2 separate regions of the Homo sapiens genome follow, and region 2 is linked to region 1. The links are contacts of gene promoters, found by promoter capture Hi-C in blood cells and fetal thymus (Javierre and others, 2016). All regions are on one chromosome and are shown on one strand. The core of a region is centred on a gene start or on the middle of the fragment in contact, and the rest is flanking DNA. Distances in the headings are between cores, read along the strand shown. Region 1 holds the start of EDNRB (endothelin receptor type B). Region 2 overlaps RBM26 (RNA binding motif protein 26).

Region 1 (2,731 bases), core at 169-2,668:
ATAAATATCATGTTGAATTTGCATGGCAGCTTTCTGATTATTTTCATGTCTCCGATAAGCATCAAGTCTGTCATAGGTACAGTATAAAAATGCCTGAGATTGCCTAACACCGATACTGTGGCAGGAAGAGAGGAGAAGAGCTGTACTGGGGAAAATGAGGAGTACTTGTAATCCTCTCTCGGGGCAGTGAGAGGGCCTGGGAAGAAAAGATCGAGCTGTTCCGTGTTGGGGTTAATGTTGGCTTGAAATGAAACTTCAGGGCAAAATGAAGCAGAGCAAAGAGCAGCGCCCACAAACCAACCTTAAATATCACAGCGGCGGAACATTTACCTGAAAGAAAAGTGACACTTGGCATTAAAAGTTCAATTATCACGTTCAGTGCAGAGCCTTGTTCTAGTCTGGAGCTGCCGGGTGTCACATGGTGCGTGATAACTTGCCCTTGATTTGGGTTCATTTGAAGAGCGTAGAACTCTAACAAATAAACAGCCTTTTGGGACCTGTCCCCGGACGAGGACTGCCCCCCTCCCTCGGGCAACTACTACTGATGCTGTCCAGGCATCGCCCAAGGGGAAAGGTTGCAGCGGGGTCGGAAGGCGCGGGAGGAGTCTGGCGGTGATTGATGGGAAGGGATGAATGAATAAAAGTACTTGTCTGATGGCAGCAGAGACCCCGAGCAAACGGTGGAGGCTACACTGTCTGGCATTCTCGCAGCGTTTCGTCAGAGCCGGACCCGCCTGCAGCTCAAGGGAGGCGTGCTCCTCTCCCAGAGCAGGCTGGAACCCAGCTGGGTTCCGCCTCCCGGGAAGGTGGTCTCCATTCGTCGCTCTGCATCTGGTTTGTCAGATCCGAGAGGTAAACATTCGGGCTTGGTGTTGAATTAAAATCATTGATTGAACCTTATTCTGGGGCTTCGGTTTGGCTTACTAGTTTGGGATTTTAAAAAAATAAAAATTAAGCCTATAGAGAGGGCAAATTAAAATTAGGTTGGGTAAAGGAAGGAGCGCGAGTGTTTGAAGCCGTTTGGAGGGAACAGCGGTTTCCAAGTTCCTGCTGACTTGAGAAGTCTCTGCGGGTTTCCGAATCTCCGGCGCACTCCTGGGCGCGCTGCGGGAGCTGTAGCTCAGCCAGCCAGGGAGTAGCGGCTTTCATCCGCCGGGAGGAGTCTTTCGAGTTCAATCGCGGGGTATAGAGGTTCCCCTGCGGGGCAAAATGCAGAGCTTGACACAAGCCCTTGGCCTCTAGGTGCCTTAATTCCGCGGTTCCCACGCACGCTTAACTAAGACGTGTCTGTATTCCTCCCGTTACGTGAAAGAGTTCGGAGCTTTGCCTGGGACCCCCATCATTCCCTCCCTGGCACACCCCTTCCAGAACGCCCCGCCCCACTGCATATTATTTACCCCTCCTGGCCACGCGGGGGAAGAAAAACAGCTGAGAGGGCATCAGGAAGGAGTTTCGACCCGCGCTGGCGAGTCATGAGCGCCAAGTTTCCCACTGGCGCGCAAACTTGAGTTACTTTTGAGCGTGGATACTGGCGAAGAGGCTGCGGGCGGTATTAGCGTTTGCAGCGACTTGGCTCGGGCAGCTGACCCAAGTGTCCTGTCTTCCTTCCTCTGCTTGTCTCTAGGCTCTGAAACTGCGGAGCGGCCACCGGACGCCTTCTGGAGCAGGTAGCAGCATGCAGCCGCCTCCAAGTCTGTGCGGACGCGCCCTGGTTGCGCTGGTTCTTGCCTGCGGCCTGTCGCGGATCTGGGGAGAGGAGAGAGGCTTCCCGCCTGACAGGGCCACTCCGCTTTTGCAAACCGCAGAGATAATGACGCCACCCACTAAGACCTTATGGCCCAAGGGTTCCAACGCCAGTCTGGCGCGGTCGTTGGCACCTGCGGAGGTGCCTAAAGGAGACAGGACGGCAGGATCTCCGCCACGCACCATCTCCCCTCCCCCGTGCCAAGGACCCATCGAGATCAAGGAGACTTTCAAATACATCAACACGGTTGTGTCCTGCCTTGTGTTCGTGCTGGGGATCATCGGGAACTCCACACTTCTGAGAATTATCTACAAGAACAAGTGCATGCGAAACGGTCCCAATATCTTGATCGCCAGCTTGGCTCTGGGAGACCTGCTGCACATCGTCATTGACATCCCTATCAATGTCTACAAGGTAAAGGGCGCCTGCTGAAATCATGGTGGGCTTGAGGAAGGGGGCCTGGTTGGAGACGGGGAGATGAGAAAGCTTGTAGAGGGAGCTTCCCTTTAGCTCCCTCTTAAGGTTCTGCCCCTCCTAAAAGTCAGTAATCTTTGGAACCAAATTCCATTTGGTTCTGTCCACTCATAAAAGTCAGTAACCATTGGAATAAAATTCCATTCAGGTCTTCAGTAGACCTCTGCTAAGCTTAGGACAAGCGTAGTCCCCAGTCTAGCAATGTTAGTATCACTTTGGGAACTTGGTGCACATGAAGATTTTTCTGGCCTCACCCCAGACCTACTGAATCAGAAACTCTGGAGTGGAGCACAGTAATTTGTATTTTAACAAGCCCTTTATGTGATTATGATGAACTGTAAAGTTTGAGAACCACTAGTCCTGAAGGATCTAGTCCCTAAGTGCACCTAATGGGGTACATCCTCTAGTCAAAAGTGTGTGGTCCATGGACAGTCAGCATCAATATTACCTGAGAGTTTGTTAGGAATGCAAGGCTACCTCAGACTTACTAAGTTAGAATCTGCATCTTAAGAT
Region 2 (2,731 bases), core at 114-2,613, 1.5 Mb before region 1:
ATTTCTCCAAATTATGCTGGCTTGAAATTTTTTGGCTTCTCCTTCCTCCCATTCACTTAGTCATGAGGTTCTCTCTTAATAATCCTTACTGACATTGCTTAGTAGGGGGCTCACACTCCGTATCTAAATGATTGCAGTTTGCTTCCTAACAAATCTGTTTTTATCTCTAGGCCTTTCTCCCTTCCAGTTCTTCTGACATGGATGCCCAGCCTTGTTTGTATCCCATTGCTTGATCAAAACCTTCAGCATTCCCAGATAATAAATTGCATACTTTTTAGCTTGCCTTTAAGAAAGCTAATGATTTGCTTTAAATTATCTTTTCCATTTATATCTTTCTACTTTTTATATGAGTCTTAATTTCAGCAAAGCTGAACTTTCGTGATTCACTGTCATTTTTTTTTATTGTTTCTTTTTTCTGAAACTTTACTGTTTCTTTTTTCTGAAGATTAGTAGTGGGCACCATTTATTGAGTGCTTACTATTAATATATGTTAATTGTTATACATTCATTGTGTGCAAGATAGGTGTTAGGAAGATGAATTAGCATACTTTATTCATAGCTAGTAAGTGATGGAGACAGGATCCAAAAGAAGACATTTTGATTCCAGAGCCTTGTTGTATTATGGTGTACTGTCTTTATATCCTTTCTTTGTGTTGAAGTCAAAGATCAAGTGTGATTCCAGTTCTTCCAGAAAGCTGCCTATGATCTATCCAGCTGGGTGAAGTGACTCCTCCCACCATGACTCCTCTCTCTCAGCACTGGTTTCAGTTGTCATGACACTCATCACTTGTACATTAAATTATTTAGTCGTGTTATTTTAGCTTTATTATTAGAGTCTCAGGCCCTTGAAAGCAGACTCCAGCTCTTAAGATTTAACTATGTTCCTGTTCATTATATACATTATCTAGCACAATGCTTTGTGTGTAGTATATACCTGATTATTAAATGCGTTAGTTGAAATTTCAAGTTTGTGTACCTAAAACCAAGGGAAGAGGCAATAATTTGGGTAAAACTATAGAATCTACCCAACTTCAGAACAGCAGATATGTGAGCTATTTGAAGATTAAGTAGTCTTTGGGTCTACTTCTTTCCATTTTTACTCCTAGCATCTTCAGTTTAGGTAAAGCTTAAGTTCAGATTTTTTTTTTCTTTGAGAGGGAAAGGTCATTGAAGTATATTAATATTTACTTGTTAAAGTATTATTGAATGTTGCTATGTGCAAGATTGCTGTCTCCATAGAGCTGCACATAAAAGAATTATAGTAATTCTAACCTGATGAATTTTATAGCTGGTAGAAGAGTTAATAGTCTATAATTATTGGTTAAAACATTTTTCTTTATTTCTTTATCCCCTTAACTTGTGATAAATTGACTTTCATAATCACATTTTGCTGCTGCAATCTTATTTGGCCTTTCCATCTGAATGCTGAGTGGTTAAAATGCATTTAGCACTTTTTTTCTGTATGTTTTAGCACTTCCTTATCTTTGGCTGACAGTGCTTCTCAAAATTATTTTACATGCTTAAACTGAGAGATAGGGACTGTATTATGAGCAAAATGTAAAATATTCCCATGTTAGTTATGTACATAACCTAAGCTTGAGAATGACTAACTGAAGCTTGAGCTAAATAGCTTGTAAGATTTTTTTCCCTCTTCTTGCTTCCTTTGTGCCAGAGAAAAGAATGAATGAGAGAAATGAATGAATGGTAAGCTGTTCCTACTAGACTTACTCATTACTCTCCTACTACTTTATTTCTGTGGAAAAAGTCTTTTCAATTTACATGCAGTAACTTTGAAATAGGTAAAAGTTTATTTTTAACTTAGGGTTTTATTAGTATCTTTTATGTGTGTATTAAATAATGGAGTAAGTTCAAGATCTGTTACTTAGTGATTCTTCTTGAGATATTTTACCTATGTAGAAGCATTTCTTTTGTTATTTTTTTCTGCGACATGTTTTACAAATGCTTTTAAAATTTTGATTTTCTGATTTTTATTGTTAGTATATAGAAATATATTTGTATATTGACGTTGAATTCTGAAATTTTACCAAGTGTACTTATTCTAGTAGCTATTTTATAGATTCTGTGGAATTTTCTTCTACCAATCTCATCATCTATGAGTAATGACAATTTTCTGATTTTTATACCTTCATTTCTTTTTTTTTTTTTTTTTTTTTTTGAGATGGAGTCTGGTTTGTTGCCCAGGCTGGATTGCAGTGGCGTGATCTCAGCTCACTGCAGCCTCCACCTCCCGGGTTCACGCGATTCTCCTGCCTCAGTCTTCCGAGTAACTGAGACTACAGGCACGTGCCACCACACCCGGCTAACTTTTTTTTTTCATTTTTAGTAGAGACGACAGGGTTTCATCGTGTTAGCCAGGATGGTCTCGATCTCCTGACCTCATGATCCGCCTGCCTCAACCTCCCAATATACCTTCATTTCTTATCATGCTGGCTAGAAGCAATAGTACAATGTTGAAGTAGTAAGAGTGGACGTCCATGTCTTGTTTCCAGTCTAAAGGGAAAGAGATTAAATGTTTCAGTATTACTGATATTGGCTCTAGGTTTTTAGTAACTGCCTTTTACCAGATTGAGAATTTTTTTCTTAATTTGCTTAATATTTTTGTCATAAAAGGTTATTGTTAACTTGGCTAACTTCTTATTTCTTTTTCTTTTTTTTGAGACAGAGTCTTATTCTCTCACCCAGGCTGGAGTGCAGTGGTGCAATCTCGACT

Evidence for each region. The method cuts DNA at HindIII sites, captures the fragments that hold promoters and counts their contacts. A CHiCAGO score of 5 or more calls a contact.
Region 2: a contact is called between a fragment that was not itself captured here and the fragment with the promoter of EDNRB in region 1, in 1 of 17 cell types (M0 macrophages). The highest score is 5.1, in M0 macrophages.

The regions. Positions count from the first base shown.
Region 1 is chr13:77,917,518-77,920,248 of GRCh38, reverse strand. EDNRB (endothelin receptor type B) reads left to right here and starts at 1,418. Exons shown (of 7, transcript NM_001122659.3): 1 at 1,418-2,158. The coding sequence starts at 1,676. RefSeq lists a cis regulatory region at 1,052-1,061 and promoters at 1,313-1,427, 417-1,489. The HindIII fragment of the contact is 2,812 bases long and covers 1-2,232 here.
Region 2 is chr13:79,397,126-79,399,856 of GRCh38, reverse strand. All of the region lies in intron 1 of RBM26 (RNA binding motif protein 26), which reads left to right. Among named protein-coding and RNA genes, the nearest start is that of RBM26, 7.8 kb to the left of the region's middle. The HindIII fragment of the contact is 469 bases long and covers 1,129-1,597 here.